Linked DNA regions of Homo sapiens: regions 1, 2, 3, 4, 6 and 7 are each linked to region 5. The links are contacts of gene promoters, found by promoter capture Hi-C in blood cells and fetal thymus (Javierre and others, 2016). All regions are on one chromosome and are shown on one strand. Each heading gives the region's core, a stretch centred on a gene start or on the middle of the fragment in contact. The rest is flanking DNA. Distances are from core to core; before and after follow the strand shown. Region 1 holds the start of HSD3B7 (hydroxy-delta-5-steroid dehydrogenase, 3 beta- and steroid delta-isomerase 7). Region 2 overlaps ITGAM (integrin subunit alpha M). Region 3 holds the start of ITGAX (integrin subunit alpha X). Region 4 overlaps ITGAM (integrin subunit alpha M). Region 5 holds the start of PRSS36 (serine protease 36). Region 6 overlaps ITGAD (integrin subunit alpha D). Region 7 has its middle 20 kb from the start of ITGAX.

Region 1 (3,022 bases), core at 1-2,500, 160 kb after region 5:
GTCTGCACACAAGCCTCGATCACGTTCCGGGTACCTGGCAGAGGAGGAGGCGTATCCAAGCTGCAGCTTCTTCCCTCTCTGCATCTTCCTCCTCCCCATCCCAGGTCCAGGGAAAACCATGACAGGTCAGGGGAGGCGGGGGCAGGGCTGTCAATAGGACAACTTGTCCCAGGGGAGTCACCGGAGGTCAAGGCCAAAGACAGAGTGGGGAACAAACAGGCAAGATGGCCAGGAGTGTCCAGAGCTCCTCACCCTGCACGTTGACCTCATGGATGGTCTTGGGACTGGCCCTGCCAAACACGTCTACCAGCCCAGCCGTGTGGATGACCACATGGGCTCCGGCCACAGCTGCTGCCACCTCATGGGCCTGGGTCACGTCCCCCTGGATGGCAGTCACCCTCACAGGCCCTGGCCGGGGTTGGAGGACACAGGCCATGTCAGAGCTGGGGCCAGAGGCCAGAGGCTGGGTTCATCTTCCACCCTGGAGTCACGTTCCCAATGTGACTCACTCGACCCATCCATGTGGACAGAAACCAGCATCATCTGTTCCACTGCAGGGGTGGGGATCCCAGCTTGGGAAGGGTTGGGGAAGCGTCCACACCCTCTCCACCACAAGCTCCCCCAACAAGAACCTGTCTTCAGCTCCTCCAGCCAGGGACCCAGGTGTTGGTCAAAGACCCGCAGCTCCCCGAGCCGGGGCTCCCGCTGCAGCAGCATTCGCACCACGTGCTCTCCCAGGAAGCCACAGCCCCCTGTGACCAGGTACACCAGCTTCTGGGCCTGTGCAGAGTCGGCCATGCCTGGCTGGGGAAGAGACCTTGGCTCATCCAGGGGCTGGCTGCCACCTGCTGCAACCACCTGTTACTGCTGGAGGTGCCCTGGAGCGGTGACGAGGCTGGCGTTTGCGGGGAGGGCAGAGCTGATCCTGGGAGCTGCAGCAACCAGGCCACCTGCCGTCTGCCCCTGCTGATGGCTGAGTTACGGAGAGAGGGGCGGGCTTGGGGTGCAGGAAGGGGTCAGGGTTTAGGGAGAGAGATTTGAAGGCAGTAAAAGGGTGGGGAGGCCAGGAGTTGAGGGAGGTGGAGGGAAGGTTATAGGAAGGTGGGAAGGGCCGGATGGAGGGAAAGGCCACCTGGGCACTGGCAGCGCCTCTGCCTACCTGCAGCCGCTATCCCAGGGTGCCCAGACTGGCCTGGAGGGGCCCTCTTCTTTCGTCCAGGGCTGGCCGGCCCGCACACCGTCCTTCCGCTGGCTCCTCCTTCTCCCTCCTGCCCCATTCCAGGAACAGAGACCCGCCCAGCCACAACCCCCACCACTCTTGCCCCAAGGCGCCCCCTGGCGGCCGCTCTGTGCTCCACTGGCATCTGGGTCCAGCGGAGAACTTGGTGGGGATGAAGCTCGAACTTGCAGAGTGGGCTGAAGGGGTCTGGGGCTGTGGGTGGAGCCAGCGGTGACCTCATCCCACAGTGTGACCTCAGGCCTTCCCTCCTGCTGGGCTTCCCAGGAGGCCGGAGGTCCAGCTGCAGCTGTGATTGTAGGAAGGGGAGGCCTGACCTTGGCACCACCCTGGCGGGCACTGGTGGGGTATTCCTGGTGCGGGTGCGGCTGCTGCAGCCTGTCAGGGGGTCCGAGACAGTCTCGGACTGTCTCTGCAGGTCTGGGCTCTTGCCTGAAGGCCCCTTTACCTGCCCCACACTTCAGGTACCCACTTTTCCCTCTCTTCAACTTGCACAACCCTCCGTGCCCTCTACCCCCAACCCCTCGCTCCTGCCCAAATACACCGACCAAACACTTTTGTACAATAAAGTTTAATCACAATTATAAAAATGTGGCGTCGGGTTTGCGCTATTAACATATGTACAGTCCAGCCCAGCAAAAGGGACCCACCCCGCCATCCTGGCCTGGCTGAGCCGGGGAGTGACACCAGGGTGGAAGGGTGACCCTCAGGGTCTGGCAGGAACAGATGAGGCAGGGTTCCAGGCACGGAGTCCCCAGGACTGGGGGTGCAGAGCCCCCCCAGGGGGAGAACATGGCCACTGCCCCAGAGACCCCTAAACTGGGGAGGGGTACACGCAGGGCGTAAGGGGAAGTCCCCATTAACACAAAGCAAGAGGACTGTGTAGCCCCCCAGGACAGAATCTGTACAGGCCGGCACCCCAGGTTTCCACAGGAAACAGCTGCTGGCTGCTACAAAACATTTACAGCTTCTTCTCCGCAAAGAAAAACAATCAGGGGGTGGTGGGCAGGGGTGACAGGAGAGGCAGAAGCTGCCTCCAGGGACTGAGGCTCCCTCGCTGGGCTTGGGGCCCCCAACCCCACGCTTGGAGATGGGGGCATGTGGGCCCTGCTGAGCCCACTAAGGCTGGGGGGGTGCTGGGAGCTCAGGGCACCAGGGGGAATAAATAGGGGTGTGGGCACCCATCCTGCCCCACCTCAGTTTAGGGAGCCCCGGCAGCTCTCTGTGCCACACAGACACGGGATCTTGTTGTCTTCCAGTGGGAACTTGTAGTCGTAGGTGATCTCCTCGTCCACGCCAATGGGCTGCTTGGAGTAGATCACGATCTTCTTCTGGGACTCGATGGTGATGACCTTGGCGTAGCAGTTAGGCTGCGGATGGAAGGGCGTGTGAGCCGTGGCCACCCCCACCGACCCCCAACTCCTGCCCCGGCTGGCCCCTGGCGCACCGTGCAGCAGTGGTTGATGAATCTGGCCAGGTTGCCACACTTGGTGGCATCGATGATGGTGTCGTGGTCCACCCGGAACAGGTAGCTGCTGCCAATGCCCTCCTGCACGTAGCGCTTCTCCCGCATGTCGGCCACCATCTGCCAGGGTGAGATGCGATGGTCAGGGAAGAGTCCCCCACTTCCTGCCCCTGAGCACGCCTGCCAGCCAGCACCCCAGGTCCACGCCCACCAGGCCTGGAGCTGCAGCTCTGCCTCCAGCTCCCGCTAACCCGGCACTGACTCTCTCGACTCTGCTTCCAGGAGCCCTCCCTCTTTGGGGCAGCATCCTAAGCCTCTGG
Region 2 (3,164 bases), core at 610-3,109, 150 kb before region 5:
AACATAGGGAGACCCCATCTCTACAAAAAATAAAAATAAATTAGACAGGCATGGTGGAATGGGCCCACAGTCCCAGCTACTCAGGAGACTGAGGTGGGAGGGTCGCTTGAGCCCAGGAGGTTGAGGCTTCCAGGAGCCGTGTTTGCACCACTGCACTCCAGCCTGTGTGACAGAACAAGACTTTGTCAAAAAAGAAGAAGGAGGAGGAGGAGGAGGAGGAGAGGAGGACGACGAGGAGGGGGAGGAGGGGGAGGAGGAGGAAGAGGAGGAGGAGGGGGAGGCGGAGGAGGAGGAGGAGGAAGAGGAGGAGGAGGAGAAGAAAAAGAAGAAAGATATTCTTTCATTTGTGACAACATGGATGAACCTGGAGGACGTTATTCTAAGTGAAATAAGCCAGTCACCAAAGGATGAATACGGCGTGGTTTCACTTATATGAGTTATCTAAAATAGCCAAACTGGCAGGGTGCGGTGGCTCACACCTGTAATCCCAGCACTTTGGGAGGCCAAGGCAGGTGGATCACTTGAGTCCGGGAGCTCAAGACCAGCCTGGACAACATGGCAAAACCCAGTCTCTACAAAAAATACAAAAATTAGCCAGGCATGGTGGTGCATGCTTGTAATCCCAGCTACTCAGGAGGCTGAGAGAGGAGAATCGCTTGAACCCAGGAGGTAAGGTTGCAGTGAGCCGAGATTGTGCCACTGCACTCCAGCCTGGGCGACAGACTGAAACTTTTGTCTCAAAAACTAAAAAAAAATAAAACAGCCAAACTCATTGAAGCAAAGAATATAATGGTGGCTGCCAGAGGCTAGAGAACAATGAGGAGTTGCTAATCAATGGGTATACATTTTCAATATGCAAGATGAAGTTCAAGAGGTCTGCTGTACAACATTGCACCAATAGATGACAGTATTACATTGTACATTTTAAAATCTGTTAAGAGGATAGGTCTCATGTTAAGTGCCCTTACCACAATAAAAAAATTTTTAAACATAAAGAAAGAAAAATGTAAGGCTAGCAAAAACCCAGAGACCAGAGGCCAGAAAACTAGATGGTCTCAGGTGGCTATGGTGGGAAAGAATATGAACAGGGAAGATGGAACCAGACTGTAAGGGTCCCTCCAGACAGTGGGCTCCACCTGGCAGGAGACAGAAAGCCAACTTACAGAGCAAAACAGTTGTCAGGTCCAGAATATAGGGTGACAAGTCATCAGGATGGGCTCCATGCTTTGCAAGACCCAATGCAAAAAAACGTAGGACCCCTTGTTGAAAAATTACTAAGAATTGAAGATGGCAATAGCAGAGCATTAAGCCAAGCACAGGGCGATTCTGAGAGAGGGGCACGTGTGACTGCACAATTCCACATCTGTGAAGTGTGCAATCCCGTAAGGTGGCCAACCGCATAGGTTTCCCAGGATGTGGGATTTCAGTACTAAATCTGGGACAGAGTTAAGCAAACTAGAGCTCTTGGTCACCTTACCAGGACCGAGATTCAGAAGAAAGGAATGCCTGCATCCCAATACTGCTAGCTTGCCATTTGCCATCGCTGGGCCTTGATCTACTCATCTGTAAAGTGGGGGTGATGAGGCTATCATGCACCTCCTATTGCTGTAGAAATAATCAATCTGGAACTAAGAGTCTTTGAGATTTCTGTGAATGTGTGTGTGTGTGTGCACGTGCACGCATGCATGTGCAAGTCTGACTCTGTCACTCTGGCTGCTGGAGTACAGTGGTGTGACCAGGACTCACTGCAGCCTCAACCTCCCAGGCTCAAGTAATCCTCCGGCCTCAGCCTCCAGAGTAGCTGGGACCATGGGTGTATGCCACCACACCTGGCTAATTTTTTTTTTTTTTTTTTTTTTTTGGAGAGATGGGTTCTCACCATGTTGCCCTGACTGGTCTTGAGCTCCTGGGCTTAAACAATCCTCCCAACTCAGCCTTCCAAAGTGCTGGGATTACAGGCGTCAGCCACCAGGCCCAGCCACATGTTATTATTTTTGAAGGTTCTGAAAGGAGTACTGTGAGAACTTATCTGGCAGCTGTGGGCACACTGAATTAGGAGAAAGATCAACAAAGAGGCTACTGTCATGACAAGGACAGTGACCAGGTCTCACCTGGCTATGGGAGGGGCTGATGCCAGATCCTGAGGTTCCGTGAAACAGGTAAACAGCACCCCGGTTGTCCTCCTCTCCTGGGGCCCCAATGGCCACGTCCGTCAGCTTGTCCCCATTTACGTCCCCCAGCACTGTTAGGGCTGCCCCAAAGCGGCCCCAGGGTTGGCCCTGCTCCCCGTAGAGAACAGCATCACACTGCCACCGAGCCCTCTGCTAAACACAAACAGTATCAGGCCCCAACCCAGGCGACCCCTCCACCCACACCGGGCCCCACCCAGCCCAGGTCCCATTGCCACTCACCCCCCTGGGCAAGGGGCACACGGACACCTGGCCCCCTCGGGTCTGCTCGTAGTAATGGGGGGCCCCGATGAGGACCAGGTCGGTGCTGCCGTTGCTGTCCACGTCCACGGAGCAGAGGGAGGCCCCGAAGTAGGCGCCGATCTGAAAGAGACAGGACCGTAATCACACACCTCTTCCCACCTAAAGCAGATGTGGAGGTTTTCTCTCTCTGAAGAAAAGTTATGCCTGCTGGGGGAATCCCTCTGGAGCAGATGTGATCTTCTATATGGTTCATGATAAATTATCACTTGAATGTGCTGCCAGCTAAAGGAACCTATATAATAAGCCTGGCAGAATGGTTTCTGCCTGTAATCCCAGCTCCTCGGGGGGCTGAAGTGGGAGGATCCCTTGAGCCAAGGAGTTTAAGGCTGCAGTGAGCTTTGTCACCACTGCACTCCAGCTTGGGCAACAGAGCAAGATCCCAATCTCTAAGTGTATATATATATTTTTTAATAATTTAAAAGATAAAAAATAAGCCTATAGTAGAGTCAATGGGCAGTGAGTGAGGATTTACTCCAGGTGGTATTCCTGGGAGATTATTAAGGCAGCAAAGAAGAATTTGGGTTGGAAAATACATAGAAAATTCTAGAAGAGAAGACAGAATACCACCCTTTCAATATATTGGGAATCTTTAGGGAGGTAAAAAGTCAAAGTTGGCACTCTGACTAATAAGGCTAATAACTGGCTTAGATTAAAAATAACTATTTGTTATTT
Region 3 (3,383 bases), core at 869-3,368, 210 kb before region 5:
ATGTTCCTCCCGCACTCGTGGTGCACGGTGGGGCCGCAGGCCTGGGGACACAGCGGGCTGCTGGGGGGCTGCCCCTGCTTCCTCCCACCCTCACATTCCGGAACCTCCACCCTACAGGAGACTCCCAGCCCCCCGCGGCCCCGGCTCCTCCCTCCCTCCCTCAGAAGCCTCCTGTGACCCAGGGCCACTCACCAGCAGCTGGGAAGGGCTGGTGGTAGACGCCAGGGACAGGCCCAGGGACATGTTCACGGCCTCCGGGGGCACTGTGGGGACAGATATGTGCATGGTCACTCTCGGGGGTACAGAGAAGGCTGTGGAAGAGCTGGGCAGGGGTCACCTCCACCTGGGAGACAAGGAGGTCTGACGGTGAAGGAAGCTGTCGGGTCTTGACAGAGCTGCGGGAGTGCGATGGGCGGGGAGGCCTTAAGGGGCCAGGAAGCATATCTGAGGGTGAGGGTCTCAGACACAGTGGAAGCTGAAAGTGACACTCCGGTGAGTCCACGGGCCCCTGGAGCAGGGAAGCCTGGGAGCCCGGCCCTGGGTCCCGGGAGGGGCGGTGACTCACCCTGCAGGCCGATGGGCTCACAGGCACCAGTGCTGTAGCCACACTGGTAGAGGCCACCCGTTTGGTTGGCAGCTGTTATCTTTTGGGGGGCTCCAACCACCACCCTGCGAGGAGACAAAGAACACTTTAGGTAAGAGTGTGGACGCTGCAGCACAGCTGCCACTCCGGCAAGTTTGCGTTCCCTCCCTGAGCCTCAGCTTCCTCATCTGCAAGATGGATTTTAATAATTTAAAGTCCATGTGGAAGGGATTTCTGTCTGTTGGATTCTCTGGCGTATGGAGACAAGAAATATTTGTTGAGTCTGGGTGTGGTGGCTCACACCTGGAATCCCAGCACTTTGGGAGGCTGAGGCGGGAGGATTGCTTGAGCCCAGGAGTTTGAGACCAACCCAGGCAACATAGTGAGACCCTGTCTCTATATATTTTTAAATGTATAGAAAAAAAGAAAGAAAAAACAAATAAGTGTTTGTTGCACGACTGATTCCTACTCACAGGCTGTCGTGTGGACTAAATCAGCATCCACCTGTGATGAGCCTGGCACTGCACTTACTGCTCTGTAAATGTTAGCTGTGAGACCGTGCCTGCCTTCAAGGCAAATCTTCATTAGCCAGGGCAGTCGCTACACCAGACAGAGAGGAGAGTTTGCAAATAACAGGGCAGGGCCGGGGGCATGGGGCCCTGAGCAGGGAGAGGATGGATGGAGCCAAAGGCCAGCACCACCTGGGCCTCACCAGGAGTTGGCATACTGGACCACGCTGTCTCCAAACCCAGCGCTGTCCACACGGAAGGCTGTCAGCTCCTCTGTGTCCAAGTTGAAACCTAGAGAAGTTGCTAAGGCTGGGAAAGAGGTGGGAAGAGAGCTTTGGAGAAGGGTCTTCCTTCTGCCTGGCTGCCCTCCACCCCCGGCCCCAGCGTCCCAATCTCCCCTCCGAGCCTGATGCCCGGGGTGCCTGGGTCTTCTGGACACCCAACTCATCCCCTTCTCTCCTTCCCAGGGTCCAGGGATGCCCCTTGCCCACCATCCACTATCGAGTTGCAGTTCTCCATTTCTGCAGAGCAGTACCCAGGCTCTAAAAAGGATCTTTCCCCAACGTGCACCTCGGGCGCTATGAGAGTGAGTCCAGGAAAACTTGCGGACCAAAGCATCCTGTCCACAGAGCACAAGTTGGCGCATTCTGCCTATTTTAAAAATCTCTGCAGTACAGAGACAACTGGCCTCTCTTCCAGCATCTCTGGAACTCTCCCAAAATTGGTTCATCAATATCCTCTCCCTCCACAAACTCCAAATCTCAGACCCTATGTGCCTGCCTCCCCCTCAGGCTTGACTGAGTCTCTCTTCCTACCCAGATCCTAACCCCCCAGCCTGAGCCCCCAGTTCAGGGCCCTGGCTCCCTTGGGCCTGGGTCCCCAGCCCTACTTCATTGGGGTCCAGGCTCACCTGTGAACAGGAGGAGTGCTGCCCTGGTCCTGGTCATGACTAGAAGGTCAGATGTGGAGCTCTGAGCTCCTGGGCCGTTGCAGGAAGAGCTGGACCAAGGTACTGAGGAAGCAAGTGGGCAGAGAGGTGGCCAGGGGAAGGAAGAAGATTGTCAGCATGAGTCAGAGGGGGCGGGCAGAGTACGCAACTGATCCGAGGACAGGCTCGGCCTCCCACACGCCCCCACCCCCCAACCGGAGTCACTCTCATCAGATGACTTGGCTTGATGCCCTTTGCTTAGATGGATGCAAATCCCTGCCCTGCCCCTCCCAGGCTCACCCTTGACTGCCAGAAGGCACCCCTTGACCTTGAAATTTCAGCCAGACTGGAGGGGGTTTGGGCAGATGCCAACCCCTCAGGACCCTAAAGGAAACCCTGGTGGGAGCCCTCCACTCTGACCTGGAAAGTCTGGGCCAAGGAGTGGGGCATCCGGGTCCCTAGGAGGAGCACAGAGCGAGTATTTGTTCATTCATTCATTCACTCATTTATTCATCATTTATTCAAGAAGCCTAATTTGAGCCTGGAGATGCAAGCCCTCTGCTAGGTGGGGAAGAAAATATAAACCACAAAGCACCAGCCCTGGGGTCAGTGGAGAGGCAGATGTATAAACAGCAAGTTCATTGCTGTGAGGGGGAAGCACAGAGACCACAGGGTGCCTCACCCGGGTTGTGAAGGTGTGGCTTTCTGAGAAGGCTTCCTGAAAGAGGTGGTGCTTGAGCTGAGCATTGAAAGCAACCAAAGTTGGGAGATGACAGAGCAGCCAGACATGGATGAGGCAGGGGACAGGAGGGTCTGTGTGTGAAATCAGCAATGGGAACCAGACAGTCAGGGTGGGAAGTTGTAAGAGACAAGGTCAGGGCCACTGGGAGGAAAGCAAGGGGAAGCAGGCCTCAGGCCGTGGAAGCCCCCCTAATGTACATCAATTTTTTTTTTTAATTTCAGAAACAGGGTCTTGCTCTGCCACCCAGGCTGGAGTGCAGTGGGTGCATAGTTCACTGCTGCTTCGAACTCCTGGGCCCAAGGGATCCTCCTGCCTCAGCCTCCTGAGTAGCCAGGACTATAGGATTGCACCACTGCACCTGAATATATATATATATTTATATATATATATTTTTTAATTTTAGTAGAGACAGAGTTTCCCCATGTTGGCCAGGCTGGTCTCAAACTCCTGATCTCAATCAATCCTCCTGCCTCAGCCTCCTAAATTGCTGGGATCACAGGTGTGAGCCACCACACCTGGTGAAGACACATTGATTTTGTCCTGAGAGTGGAGGACAGCATTGAAGGGAATTCATGGGGACTGAGATCTTCACATTTTCATTTTAGAAAGTGGGTTATATGG
Region 4 (3,201 bases), core at 123-2,622, 170 kb before region 5:
AGACTACTATGAACAATTATATGTTAACAAACTTGATAACCTTGAAGGAATGGATAAATTCCTAGAAATATACAACCTACCAAGCCTGAATCATAAGGCAATAGAAAGTTTAAACAGATCTATAATGAGTAAGGAAATTGAATCAGTAATCAAAGACCTCCTAACAAAGAAAAGCCCAGGACCTGGTGGCTTCTCAGGCAAATTCTACCAACCAAACATTTAAATAAGAATTAATATGAATTCTTCTCAAACTCATCCAAAAAACTGAAGAGGAGGGAATACTTCCAAACTTATTGTATGAGGCAAGCACTATCCTGACACTAAATCCCAACAAACACACCATGAGAAAAGATCACTACATGCCAATTTCCCTATTGAACATAGATCCAAAATCCTAAATAAAATACTAGCAAACTGAATTCAATAGCACAAAAGGGTCATACGCCATGACCATGTGGGCTTTATTCCTGGCATGCAAGGATGGCTCAACATATGCAAATCAATAAATGTGATGCACCACATTAACAGAATAAGGAATAAAAATAACATGATCTTATCAATAAGAAAAGAAAGCATTTAATAAAACTAAACATCTGTCTTAGCTTATTTGGTATAACAAATAACATAGACTGGATGGGTTATAAGCAATAGAAATTTATTTCTCATAGTTCTGAAGACTTGTGACATCCAAAATCAAGGTGCAAGCAGATTCAATATCTGGTGAGAGCCTATTTTCTGGTTCATAGGCAACCATCATTTTGCTTTTGTCTAAGGGCACTAATCCTATTAATGATGGCCACACTCTCATGACCTAAACACCTTCCAAAGGTCCCATCTACAAATACCATCACACAAGGAATTAGGCTTCAACATATGAATCTGGGGAGGACACAAACATTCAGGCCACAGGAATAGCCACTCATGATTAAAAACCCTCAACAAACTAGAAATACAGGGAAATTACATCAACATGATAAAGAACATTAAAAAAAGTGTCTAGTTAACATCATACCCAGTGGTGAAAATTTGATTTTACCACTAAAATTAGGAACAAGGCAAGGATGCCCACACTCACCACTTCTATTTCAACACAGTACTGAAAGTCCTAGCCAGAGCAATTGGGCAAGAAAAAGATAAGAAATGCATTCAAGTTAGAAATAAAGAAAAAAAAATTGTCCCTGTTTGCAATTGACATGATCTTATATATAAGAAACTTGTTATAAATACTCTACGAAAAAGTTATCAAATTTAATAAACAAATTTAGTAAAGTCATGGAATACAAAATGAACATACAAAAATTATTTGTTTCTATACACTAACAACAAACTATCTGAAAAAGAAATTAATCCTATTTACAATGGCATCAAAAAATAAAATGCTTACAAGTTAATTTAACCAAGAAGGTGAAAAATATGCACACTAAAACTATAAAACATTGACGAAAGAAAGTTAAGACAAAAATCAATGGAAAGATATCCCATATTATGGATTGAAAGAATATTTTTAAAGGTCCATACTATTCAAAGTGATCGATAGAGTCAATGTAATTCCTACCAAAATCCCAATGGCATTTCTTACAGAAATAGAAAAAACAATACTAAAATTAATATGAAGTCACAAAAGACCTCAAATATCCAAGACAATCTTGAGCATAAACAACAAAGGTAGAGGTATCACACTACCTGACATCAAAATACACCACAAAGGTATACTCAGCAAAACAGCATGACACTGACATAAAAACAGAGACATTGACCAATGGAACAGAATACAGAGCTCAGAAATGAACCCATGCATTTACAATCAACTAATTTTCTTTTCTTTTTTTTTTTTTTCCAGACGGAGTCTTGCTCTGTTACCCAGGCTGGAGTGCAGTGGCATGATGTAGGCTCACTGCAACCTCTTCCTCCCAGGTTCCCCCATTCTCCTGCCTCAGCCTCCCGAGTAGCTGGAACTACAGGTGCCCACCACCATGCCTGGCTAATTTTTTTTTTTTTTTTTTTTTTTTTTTTTTTTTTTTTTGAGACGGAGTCTCGCTCTGTCGCCCAGGCCGGACTGCGGACTGCAGTGGCGCAATCTCGACTCACTGCAAGCTCTGCTTCCCGGGTTCACGCCATTCTCCTGCCTCAGCCTCCCGAGTAGCTGGGACTACAGGCGCCCGCCACCGCGCCCGGCTAATTTTTTGTATTTTTAGTAGAGACGGGGTTTCACCTTGTTAGCCATGACGGTCTCGATTTCCTGACCTCATGATCCACCCGCCTCAGCCTTCCAAAGTGCTGAGATTACAGGCATGAGCCACCGCGCCCGGCCAACAATCAACTAATTTTCAACAAAGGTGCCAAGGGCATACAATGGGGAAAGGACAGTCTTTTTAACAAATGGTGTTAAGAACACTGGATATCCACAGGCAAAAGAATGAAACTGAGCCTTTATCTCAAACCAAATACAAAAATCAAAAGTGCTGGGCCGGGTGCAGTGGCTCACGCCTGTAATCCCAGCACTTTAGGAGACTGAGGCGGGTGGATTACCTTAGATCAGGAGTTCAAGACCAGCCTGGCCAACATGGTGAAACCCCGTCTCTATTAAATATACAAAAAAGTAGCCAGGCATGGTGGCGGAGGCCTGTAATCCCAGCTACTTGGGAGGCTGAGGCAGGAGAATCGCTGGGACCCGGGAGGTGGAGGTTGCAGTGAGCTGAGATCGTGCCACTGCACTCCAGCCTGGGCAATAGAGAGAGACTCCATCTAAAATAAAATTAAATTAAAAAATAAAAAAATTAAAAAGTGAGTTAAAGGCTTAAATGTAAGATCTAACACTATAAACTATTAGAAGGAAACGTAGAGGGAAAGCTTCATGACATTGGTCTGGGCAATGATTTTTTTATATGATCCTGAAAGCACAAGCAACAAAAACAAAAACAGACAAATGGAATTGCATCAAACTAAAAAGCTTCTGCACAATAAAGGAATAATTAACAGAGTGAAGAGACAACCTACAGACTGGGGGAAAATATTTGCAAACCACACAACTGATAAATGGTTAATATCCATAACACATAAAGAACTCAATAGTAAGAAAATAAATAACCCAATTTAAAAATGGGCAAAGAGGGCCGGGTTCGGTGACTCACACCTGTAATCCCAGCACTTTGGGAGGCTGAGGCAGGTGAATCACTTGAGATCAGGAGTTTGAGACCAGCC
Region 5 (2,948 bases), core at 291-2,790:
GGTTCCAGTAACTGCCCCCTCTCTGCCTCTTCAGGCCAGCAGGTAGCAAGGGCTCTCTATTATTGCTGGCCCCAGGATGCGTTACCATCCCTCTTTGGTTTCCTTTTTTTTTTTTTTTTTGTGAGACGGAGTTCGCTCTTGTCACCCAGGCTAGAGTGCAACGGCGCTATCTTGGCTCACTGCAACCTCCACGTCCTGGGTTCAAGCATTTTTATCTGCCTCAGCCTCCCTAATAGGTGGGATTACAGGTGAGTTCCACCACACTCGGCTAATTTTTGTATTTTTAGTATAGATGGGGCTTCTCCAAGTTAGCCAGGCTGGTCTTGAACTCCTGACCTCAGGTGATCTGCCCGCCTCGGCCTACCAAAGTGCTGGGATTACAGCCGTGAGCCACCCAGCCTCTTTGGTTTCCTTTGACCCTGCCTACACTTCTATAAATAGTTTCTTCCTTAAACTCTCTTCAACTCCTCTTTGAAGAGCCATATGTTTCTTTCTTCTTCTTATTCTTCTTTTTTTTTTTCTTTTTGTTGTTGTTGTTGAGACAGGGTCTCGCTTTGTCACCCAGGCTGGAGTGCAGTGGCACAATCATAGCTCACTGCAACCTCGACCTCCCAGGCTCAAGCAATCCTCCCACCTCATCTCCCGAGTAGCTGGGATACAGACGTGCACCACCACGCCCTGCAGTTCATAATTTTTGTATTTTTTAATTTTTTGTAGAGATGGGGTCTTGCTATGTTGACCAGGCTGGTCTTGAACTCCTAGCCTCAAGCAATCCTCCCACCTCAGTCTCCCAGAGTGTTAGGATCACAGGAGTGAGCCACCGTGCTCGGCCAAGTCATATGTCCCTTAAACTGGCTCTTACTGATACACACCAAGAGGTTGGGTTACTTTCCCAAAGTCACACAGAGTAAGTGACAGGGCAGCTAAGAGCATTGTCACTGGAACACAGAGCAGGGTGGAGGCTTTTTCAGCCTCGCCAGCCTGCCCAGCCCCCTCCCAGGGTCCCTATGCCCTGCCCAACCTGCTGGAATCTGTGATCCTTTTGTTGGGATGGGATTGAATTCCCTAGGGCTCCTGTCCCAGACCTGGCCAGCAGCTCCAGTAACCAGAGCTGTGTGAGAAGAAAAGGCCAAGCCACTGGGGCAGCCGCACCCCAAACAGAGGTGAGGTCTCCGATGAGTCATGCCCGTGAGGGGCCACTTCCCCTGTCCTAAGGGCCACTGCTCACCAAGGACACAGAACACTGTCCTCCTCTTTGACCTTTGCCTGCAGTGTTTTTCATCCCTCCCTCTCCCACCCAACAGGTGTCCAGGAGCTAGGACACCTGTCCTCCACCCCCACCCTGGGCCTCCAGAGACATGAGATGTGCGCAGGGCTCTGGGTGGGGCCTTCAGGCTCCCCAGCTTCCCCCTTCCAGCCCCAGATCCTCTCAGATTCCCAGAGATGGGCTCCAGCCAGGGAGGGTGGGGCTGCCCCTGGGACCATCAGGAGTCACGGGCTGCCTGGGCAGTGACAGAGCCCTGCAGGGAGCAGACCTTCACTTGGCTCTGCCTCCGCTGACTCTAGCGCCATGGCCCGGCACCTGCTCCTCCCCCTTGTGATGCTTGGTAACCTCAGGGGACAAGAGTGGCTGCAAAGGGCCTGGGTCCTGGCATCTGGGGGGCTGGAGAGCAGGATTCCTGGTTTCTGTGTGGGGAGCAGGAAGTCAGAGAGAAGGAAGTGAGGCAGCAGAAGGCGAGGATGTATCAGAGGAGGGAGAGGGAGGCCTGGGTGCCCTGGGGAGACGGAGGCTAGGAGGCTGGGGGAGGGAGTCAGGGAGGGCACATACTGAGTGCGAGTCGCCAGCCTCTTCCTGCCTACCTCTGTCTTTCCAGTCATCAGTCCCATCCCAGGAGCCTTCCAGGACTCAGGTAAGGTAGCCGGACTGGGGGAAAGTCACGTGCAGAGGCAGAAAAGACCAGAGGACTGGCATGGGTGCTGGCAGGGGTTGCTGAACGGACAGGGAAGTGGGAAGATAGGGTCGGGGGTTGGAGAGCAGGAAGTGGGGCTGGGCGGTGCAGGCCTGGAAGTCACAAGTGTCCTCCTCTCTTTCCCCTCTGGCTCCCAGCTCTCAGTCCTACCCAGGAAGAACCTGAAGATCTGGGTAAGGAAGAGGCCTTGGCACCCTCAGACCTTAAAGGAGGCTAAGGCTGGTCAGGCCATGAGGGAGGTGGAAAAGACCAGAAATGTAGACAAGCCTGGGTCCTCTATGTTCTTTGTTCAGAGGGGCAAACTGAAGTGGGTGGAGGACGGGCCTTCGTCCTGAGTTACCTGGGCTTCTGGAGTGGGGAACCCGAGGGGAGCTTTGGCTTCCACGGCTCCCCGTTGCAGACTGCGGGCGCCCTGAGCCCTCGGCCCGCATCGTGGGGGGCTCAAACGCGCAGCCGGGCACCTGGCCTTGGCAAGTGAGCCTGCACCATGGAGGTGGCCACATCTGCGGGGGCTCCCTCATCGCCCCCTCCTGGGTCCTCTCCGCTGCTCACTGTTTCATGACGTGAGTATTCGCCCTGGTCCTGGCCCCTCTCCGCCAAAAGCTGGCCCCCGCCCCCGCAGTTGGTCCCCTCCTCCCGCCCCACTTCCGTCCTCAAGGATAATTTGGAGCCAAGCTGTCCCCAAAGCGAGGTGCTATTCGAGGCATCATGGTTCCGAGTGGGGCAAGGCTGCCGGACTGGTCCCACCACTCCACTCAATATCCGGGTCTGAATCCCATCTTTCCAATGACCCCCCCACCACCAGCTCCAAATCGGATTTGCTCTTCCCCTTTGAGGAGTATCAGCACCAAATCTGGATCGGATAGCACCTGCCCCTCTGGCTCTGAGCCCCTGCCCCCAACGAGGGTCTGCCCCCTCCATAGGGTCAACCTAACCTCCTACTGCCCCGGTCGAGCGCAGGAATGGGACGCTGGAGCC
Region 6 (3,140 bases), core at 581-3,080, 250 kb before region 5:
GTCACCCCTGCCTCATTCATTTTTTTCCCCAGGCCCCACCACTGGAAGAACTTTGAGGGGTGAGGTGGAGACTCCAGAATGGGACACTCCCGTGTGACTTTAAACTTACAGGACAGACGGAGGCCTTCCTCTGGGTTGCTGAGTCACAAGGGGCCACCGTTCAAGGCAGAAGAGCCTCCCAGAAGTAAAGAGGGTGCGTTTGGTGGGAGCATCTCTTGTTTAAGCCAAATTCTAGCACCACCCCAGGGCTGCTCCCAGGGGTGTGTGCAGGAAGCCAAGGATCCCCGACCGTCAGCCCAGCTCCTTCCTACAAGAACCACATGCCTTTCTCGGGGGTCCCACCTCCTACATCGTTTTAGGAATAGACTGCATGTGCACGGGGCAGGCCCACGGTGAGTGCCTGGGTAGCACAGGGGGTGCGCAGGGGTGAGGGATGCGGGAGAGGAGGTGAGTGGGGAGAAAGGCACCAGGACGACCTTGGGTGACAATTCCTGAGTCCCTGACTACTCCATTCTCTGATAAAACCTCAGGCATTTATCCGACACCTCCTACGTGCCCCGGGCTGAGCACCCCACACACATGATCTCAATCCTAAGCTGTGAGCTTATCTTCATCTGAGAGTTACTGAGACTTAGAGCCCATCACCCCAGGGTTACACCCAGAGTAGCTCACGGGGAGCCAGGATGGGAGCCTGATGTGTCTGAGCCAAAGCCCGGGCCTCTGGCTGCTGTGGGGTGGGGAGGGGTCCTGGGGTCCAGGCTCTGCAGAACCAGGCAAAGGGGAGGCATAGCTGCAGAGGAGCCTAGTCCTATATCAGGGAGACTGGCAGCGAGGCAACCAGGAGCACCCCGGGGGGAGGTTCTCCCTGCAGCCCCGACATGCCCCTTGGTAGCCCCTTTCCCTGGAGCCTCCCTCAGCCTCTGAGAAGAGCTGTGCTGACCCAGGGTTAGGAAGTGGGGGTGGCAGTCACATCGCCAGGCTGGGGTCGGGGTTGCTTACACCACTGTCAGGATGCCCGTGGCCGTGAACGTCAGGCCTTTCAGTTGGACGATGGGATCCACCAGGCTCTGCTGGCTCGGGCTGGTCCGGAATTGGGTGAAGGTGAAGTGGATCTTCAGGAGGTTTGAGTACTGCATCAGTGCAAACTGCAAAGGCCAGTGGGGAGGGCCCAGGGCTCAGTGCCTGTTACTATTGTTTTTATTTTAATTTTTTGTAGAGACAGGGTCTCTCAAACTCCTGGCCTCAAGTGATCCTCCTGCCTCAGCCTCCAAGTAGCTGGAACTACAGGCACACGTCACATGCCTGGCTTTGTTTTTTGTTTTGTTTTGTTTTTGGTAGAGACAAGGTCTCACTATGTTGCCCAGGCTGGTCTCGAACTCTTGGCCTCAAGCAATACTCCCACCTCAGCCTCCCAAAGTGCTGGGATTACAGGTGTGAGCCACCACACCAAGCCATATTGTTTTCAGTTTTAATAAACTTTATTTTGGAATTATTTTGGATTTACAAACCATTTCCCATGTGTTTTGAAGCCCTACAAATAATATACTGAAACCCAGAGAAGAAAATTCATTGGCCCAAAAATACAAAATATAAACTGGAAAATCTAAACCAAATGATATTTCCTTCACAGTTTATTAAAAATAACTTTGCCAACCACAATATTTGCTACCCTTAGCTTTTTAAAAATTTTATCACACATTAAATCAATTTGTGTATTTCCTCCCTTCTCAAGAATTTGTGGCTGGGCGTAGTGACTCATGCCTGTAATCCCAGCACTTTGAGAGGCCAAGGTGGGAGGGTTGTTTGAGCCAGGAGTTGGAGACCAGGTTGGGCAATATAACAAGACCCCATCTCTACAATAAAAATTTTTAAAAATTAGCCAGGCATGGTGGCATGCACCTGTAGTCCCATCTACTCAGGAGGCTGAGGAAAGAGGATCACTTGAGCCTGGGAGATCAAGTCTGCAGTGAGCTATGATTGCACCCCCACACTGCAGCCTGGATGACAGAACAAGACCCTGTTTAAAAAACAAAACAGTGGGGTTTTTTTGCACATACATAGGCACTAGTTATGGGAAAATAAAATAATAAAAAGAAATCATTAGTTACATAGAAAATATGTCAGTCAAATTCCATAGCAAAATTATTTTTTAAACACTTTCAATGTTTTTAAACAGCAGAAACATTGTATTTCCTGTAGCTTTTGGATACATTATTAAATGCCAAGAGGGCCTCCTAGGTCAGGGCTCAAGTTGGGCCTGTGCTGGGACCATAGCTTCATTCTCCACCCCAGCCCCATCACACACGGCTCACTGGCCTGCCCCCACCCCTCCCGGGATGCCTCCCCGAGGCCAGCCTCCCCCGTCCCCCAAACCCCAGCCCCAGGTGCCCAGTCTTCACCAGGGTGTCAGTGCCCTCAAACTGGCCCATGACAGCTTGGACAAAGCCCTTCATCTGGTTAAAGTCATTTTGGTCAATGCTTCCAGAGCCGTCAATCAGGAAGACGATGTCCATCTCTTGATGTGGACACTCTGTGGGGGAATGGGGAGGAATCGGAGATGCACTGCGGGGGCCCAACCCCCTCCTGCAGCTCCTGCTCAACAGAGCCCGGGGGCTGTTCTTGGCATCCCCACCTAGTTTCCGACCCCTCCTTGGAGGAGGCCCCAGTCTGCCACCCCAGCCCCCTGCTCCCTTCCTCCCACATGGCCTGGAAAGAGAGGGATGACAACACAGGACCCAGGTGGGCTCCTCATCCATTTAATCAACAAATATTCATTAAACACAGATGCTAGGGGTGCCACAAGCATCAAGGGCGAATGTTTAGCAAAGTGGTTCAGGGCGCGTGTTCTGGAGCCAGTGTGCCTGGGCTAAACCCCAGCTCAGCCACGTGCTAATTGGTGAATTCAGGCACATTACTTAACTTCTCTGGACTTCAGTGTCCCTATCTGTAAAATGAAGGTAATATCAGTGGCTACCACGTGGGATCACTGCAAGGATAAAGCAACACGCACATGGGTGCTGGAGACAAGTCCTGGCCCTCTGCCAGGGTCAGCCGCTGGCACCATTCTCACCACGTGCCAGGCACCTTCGAGGCCTGTAGGATATGCCTGTAGGGATGCTGTGGGGGTGGGGCAGGGATCC
Region 7 (3,128 bases), core at 103-2,602, 180 kb before region 5:
GGACAGCTGGATGGAAGGATCACAGCAGCCTCATGCATGCACAGTGGCAGTGGCCTCCGCTGTCTCCTCCATGAGTCCACTCTTTCTCCAGTGGGCCATATGGATCACGGCGTGGTGACCTCAGTGTTCCGAGGGGTGCAGGGCAGGATCTGCTGTGCTCCTAAAGGTCTAGGCTCCAGAACTCACACGACCACACTCCTACTGTATTCTATTAATCAAAGCAAACCACGGGACCAGCCCAGATTCAAAGAGGTAGACAGGCCGCACCATGTGATGTCAGGGACAGCAATGTCACACTGCAAGGGTGTAGGGCCGGGAAGCACCATTCACTGGGAGTCAGAATTGTAACCATCTCCCATGGTGGCCCAAATTAAGATTCTACTCTAAGTAGGAAAAGGAGAGTGGATACTGAAGGGATTCATTTATTCTGAAGTGAGAAATCCCCAAAAATAAAAGCAAGCAGACGTTCCTGGACTTGGCCACTTATCACCAGATTTATGGTCCTGTTTATTAGTCACTTTGTGGTCATGCTAGGGAAATCTGTCGCTTGAAATGATTGACTTTTCTAACCCATCATAAAGCTCCTATCTGGCTGAATTCAACACAAGCTTCTCATTTGAAGACGCGGAGGTGAACTCTGAGTTCACAGGACTTTAACTGCCCTGCAAAGACTGGCGGCTACAGGCACGGAGGCTGCAAGGACAGGCAACTACAGGTATGGAGGCTGCCAGGACAAGCAACTAGGTACGAAGGCTACAAGGACCAGCATGGAGGCTGCAAGGACAGGCGACTACAGACATGGAGGGTGAAAGGACAGGCGACTAAAGGTACAGAACTCTCTCTGTTCCCGGAGCAATTCAGGACTTCTGCAGATATTGAGGACTTTTATCTTTCAACATAAGGAAACACAGAAATTCTTAACAGACTTTATTTAAGTCAGGAGAGGAAATAGCAAAGAACCGTCTAAAGGTGACCGTGTTTTGTGTCACCCCCACAGATACAAAGGGCCATTGTCTCATTAGCCACCTTTTGAGGGCATCTCACTTCACTTTGAGTGAAATTGGAACTACTCACTCTGGCTTACAAAGCACTCATGCCCAAGCCCTGCCCACTCTCCCAGCCTCCCCTGCCCTCCCTTCTGCCTGGAGATCTTCTGGCCCTGCTTCAGTCAGGTGTCACCTCCCTTGGGGACCCTTCCTTCACCTCCCTAAGGAGTAAGCCCTCTCTCCTCCTGCCACATGTGAAACAAGTGTCCCTCTAAGCCATGATTTTCTTGTATTTCAATGAAGATCATGAAATTACCATTTTTTGGCTGGGCACAGTGACTCACACCTGTAATCCCAGCATTTCGGGAGGCCAAGGCAGATGGATCACCTGAGGTCAGGAGTTCAAGACCAGCCTGGCCAACATGGTGGAACCCCATCTCTACCAAAAATACAAAAAAAAAAAATTAGCCAGACATTGTGGTGCACGCCTGTAATCCCAGCTACTCAGGAGGCTGAGGCAAGATAATCACTTGAACCCGGGAGGGAGAGGTTGTAGTGAGCTGAGATCACACTACTGTACTCCAGTCTGGGCGACAGAACAAGACTCCATGAAAAAAAAGAAAGAAAGAAAGAAAGAAAGAAAGAAAGAAAGAAAGAAAGAAAGAAAGAAAGAAAGAAAGAAAGAAAGAAAGAAAGAAGGAAGGAAGGAAGGAAGGAAGGAAGGAAGGAAGGAAGGAAGGAAGGAAAGAAAGAAAGAAAAAAGAAAGGAAGGAAGGAAGGAAGGAAGGAGGAAGGAAGGAAGGAAGGAAGGAGGAAGGAAGGAAGGAAGGAAGGAAGGAAGGAAAGGAAGGAAGGAAGGAAGGGAAAGAAAGAAAGAAGGAGAAAGAAAGAAAGAAGGAGAAAGAAAGAGAGAGAGAAAGAAAAGAGAGAAAGAGAAAGAAAGAAAGAAAAGAAAGAAACATTTTTGTCCAAAAACATGTCATCAATTTCATATGCTTTAACCCAATATCATAACAGTTAAATAACAGCCACCCTCTCCCCACACTCCCTCATGCCTGTTCTGGGGCCATTCCTCTGAGGCTGTCAGGACAGTAAAAGAGAAAAGCTTTAGACCTAGGCAGAGCTGGGATTAACTCCTAGCTCCATTCCTTCCCAGCTGTATGACCTCAGGCAACTGGTATGATCTATCTAAGCCTAGGTTTCCTCATAAGTGAAATTCATGTAAATACCAAGGACTGGTGTGAGGATTAGAGAGGATGTATGTTCAGGCCAGGCTAGTGTTTACTGTGTTTGCAAAGTATGAGGGACAGGCACTGGGCATCCTCCCTCTGAGGAAGCAGCCACCAAAATGTCACCTGCACACACCTTGGCAGCAAGTGCTCCTGGTGCCCTGACCTGAACCAAAGGCACCGTGTCAGGGGCTGTGTTCACCTGTCAAACATCCAGCCAGCAGCACTGGTATCACTTTCTCTGGCCACTAGAGCCCACTCTCCTCACACTCAGGGCAGGCCAGAAGTGGTAGGAAATTAACACACTCTCCCCACCAAGAGCAGCCCTCATCCAATAGCTAAGTGGAATCGGTGTCTATGCGCTCCAGCCTTCTCCCCTGGGTGGGGTGATACTGAGGTGCGTGTTCTGCACTGCCTCCGAGAACTGCCCAGTGGGGTGAAGCTCCAGGAACTCACAGCAGCTTCTCTGTGGGTGATACACCTGTTATTGGCAGCCTTCCCTTCCTCGGTATTTCCTGGAGCCATCTCTTTATTTTATTTTATTTTATTTATTTTTTTTTTTTTAAGATGGAGTCCTGCTCTGTCGCCCAGGCTGGAGTGCAGTGATGCAATCATATCTCACTGCAACCTCTACCTCCCAGGTTAAAGCAATTCTCCTTCCTCAGCCTCCCAAGTAGCTGAGATTACAGTTGCCTGCCACCATGCATGGCTAATTTTTTTGTATTTTTAGTAGAGACGGGGTTTCACCAAGTTCGACAGGCTGGTCTCAAACTCCTGAGATCAGGTGATCCACCAGCCTCGGCCTCCCAAAGTTCTGGGATTACAGAGGCGTGAGCCACTGTGCCCGACCTTTATTTTATTATTTTGTTTATTTTTGAGACAGGATCTCACTCTGTCACCCAGGCTGGAGTGC

The links. The method cuts DNA at HindIII sites, captures the fragments that hold promoters and counts their contacts. A CHiCAGO score of 5 or more calls a contact.
Region 1: the fragment with the promoter of HSD3B7 here is called in contact with the fragment with the promoter of PRSS36 in region 5 in 7 of 17 cell types (M1 macrophages, megakaryocytes, endothelial precursors and 4 more); the score reaches 7.0 in M1 macrophages.
Region 2: a fragment that was not itself captured here is called in contact with the fragment with the promoter of PRSS36 in region 5 in 6 of 17 cell types (M0 macrophages, monocytes, M2 macrophages and 3 more); the score reaches 8.8 in M0 macrophages.
Region 3: a contact is called between the fragment with the promoter of ITGAX here and the fragment with the promoter of PRSS36 in region 5, in 15 of 17 cell types (monocytes, neutrophils, M0 macrophages and 12 more). The highest score is 11.4, in monocytes.
Region 4: a contact is called between a fragment that was not itself captured here and the fragment with the promoter of PRSS36 in region 5, in 3 of 17 cell types (M0 macrophages, monocytes and M2 macrophages). The highest score is 7.6, in M0 macrophages.
Region 6: a contact is called between a fragment that was not itself captured here and the fragment with the promoter of PRSS36 in region 5, in 12 of 17 cell types (M0 macrophages, monocytes, M2 macrophages and 9 more). The highest score is 12.2, in M0 macrophages.
Region 7: a fragment that was not itself captured here is called in contact with the fragment with the promoter of PRSS36 in region 5 in 10 of 17 cell types (monocytes, M0 macrophages, total B cells and 7 more); the score reaches 8.8 in monocytes.

The regions. Positions count from the first base shown.
Region 1 is chr16:30,983,435-30,986,456 of GRCh38, reverse strand. It overlaps HSD3B7 (hydroxy-delta-5-steroid dehydrogenase, 3 beta- and steroid delta-isomerase 7), which reads right to left and starts at 1,250. Exons shown (of 7, transcript NM_025193.4): 1 at 1,160-1,250; 2 at 633-804; 3 at 253-408; 4 at 1-34. The coding sequence starts at 798. It overlaps SETD1A (SET domain containing 1A, histone lysine methyltransferase), which reads right to left. Exons shown (of 19, transcript NM_014712.3): 18 at 2,685-2,822; 19 at 1,793-2,607. The coding sequence ends at 2,434. RefSeq lists an enhancer at 1,269-1,781. The HindIII fragment of the contact is 29,451 bases long and covers 1-3,022 here.
Region 2 is chr16:31,296,902-31,300,065 of GRCh38, reverse strand. It overlaps ITGAM (integrin subunit alpha M), which reads right to left. Exons shown (of 30, transcript NM_000632.4): 13 at 2,412-2,552; 14 at 2,112-2,321. Among named protein-coding and RNA genes, the nearest start is that of ITGAM, 39 kb to the right of the region's middle. The HindIII fragment of the contact is 4,791 bases long and covers 1-3,164 here.
Region 3 is chr16:31,353,911-31,357,293 of GRCh38, reverse strand. It overlaps ITGAX (integrin subunit alpha X), which reads right to left and starts at 2,118. Exons shown (of 30, transcript NM_000887.5): 1 at 2,003-2,118; 2 at 1,296-1,401; 3 at 566-669; 4 at 193-263; 5 at 1-41. The coding sequence starts at 2,039. RefSeq lists enhancers at 2,347-2,536, 2,727-2,856. The HindIII fragment of the contact is 18,983 bases long and covers 1-3,383 here.
Region 4 is chr16:31,315,023-31,318,223 of GRCh38, reverse strand. The region is part of intron 14 of ITGAM (integrin subunit alpha M); the gene reads right to left. Among named protein-coding and RNA genes, the nearest start is that of ITGAX, 39 kb to the left of the region's middle. The HindIII fragment of the contact is 2,960 bases long and covers 1-2,852 here.
Region 5 is chr16:31,148,658-31,151,605 of GRCh38, reverse strand. It overlaps PRSS36 (serine protease 36), which reads left to right and starts at 1,540. Exons shown (of 15, transcript NM_173502.5): 1 at 1,540-1,607; 2 at 1,875-1,910; 3 at 2,108-2,143; 4 at 2,371-2,533; 5 at 2,931-2,948. The coding sequence starts at 1,571. RefSeq lists enhancers at 1,296-1,832, 1,833-2,368, 2,369-2,906. The HindIII fragment of the contact is 9,446 bases long and covers 1-2,948 here.
Region 6 is chr16:31,401,505-31,404,644 of GRCh38, reverse strand. ITGAD (integrin subunit alpha D) reads right to left here. Exons shown (of 30, transcript NM_005353.3): 6 at 2,400-2,530; 7 at 1,000-1,145. Among named protein-coding and RNA genes, the nearest start is that of ITGAD, 9.7 kb to the right of the region's middle. The HindIII fragment of the contact is 7,259 bases long and covers 1-3,140 here.
Region 7 is chr16:31,333,226-31,336,353 of GRCh38, reverse strand. No RefSeq gene overlaps it. Among named protein-coding and RNA genes, the nearest start is that of ITGAX, 20 kb to the left of the region's middle. The HindIII fragment of the contact is 1,483 bases long and covers 611-2,093 here.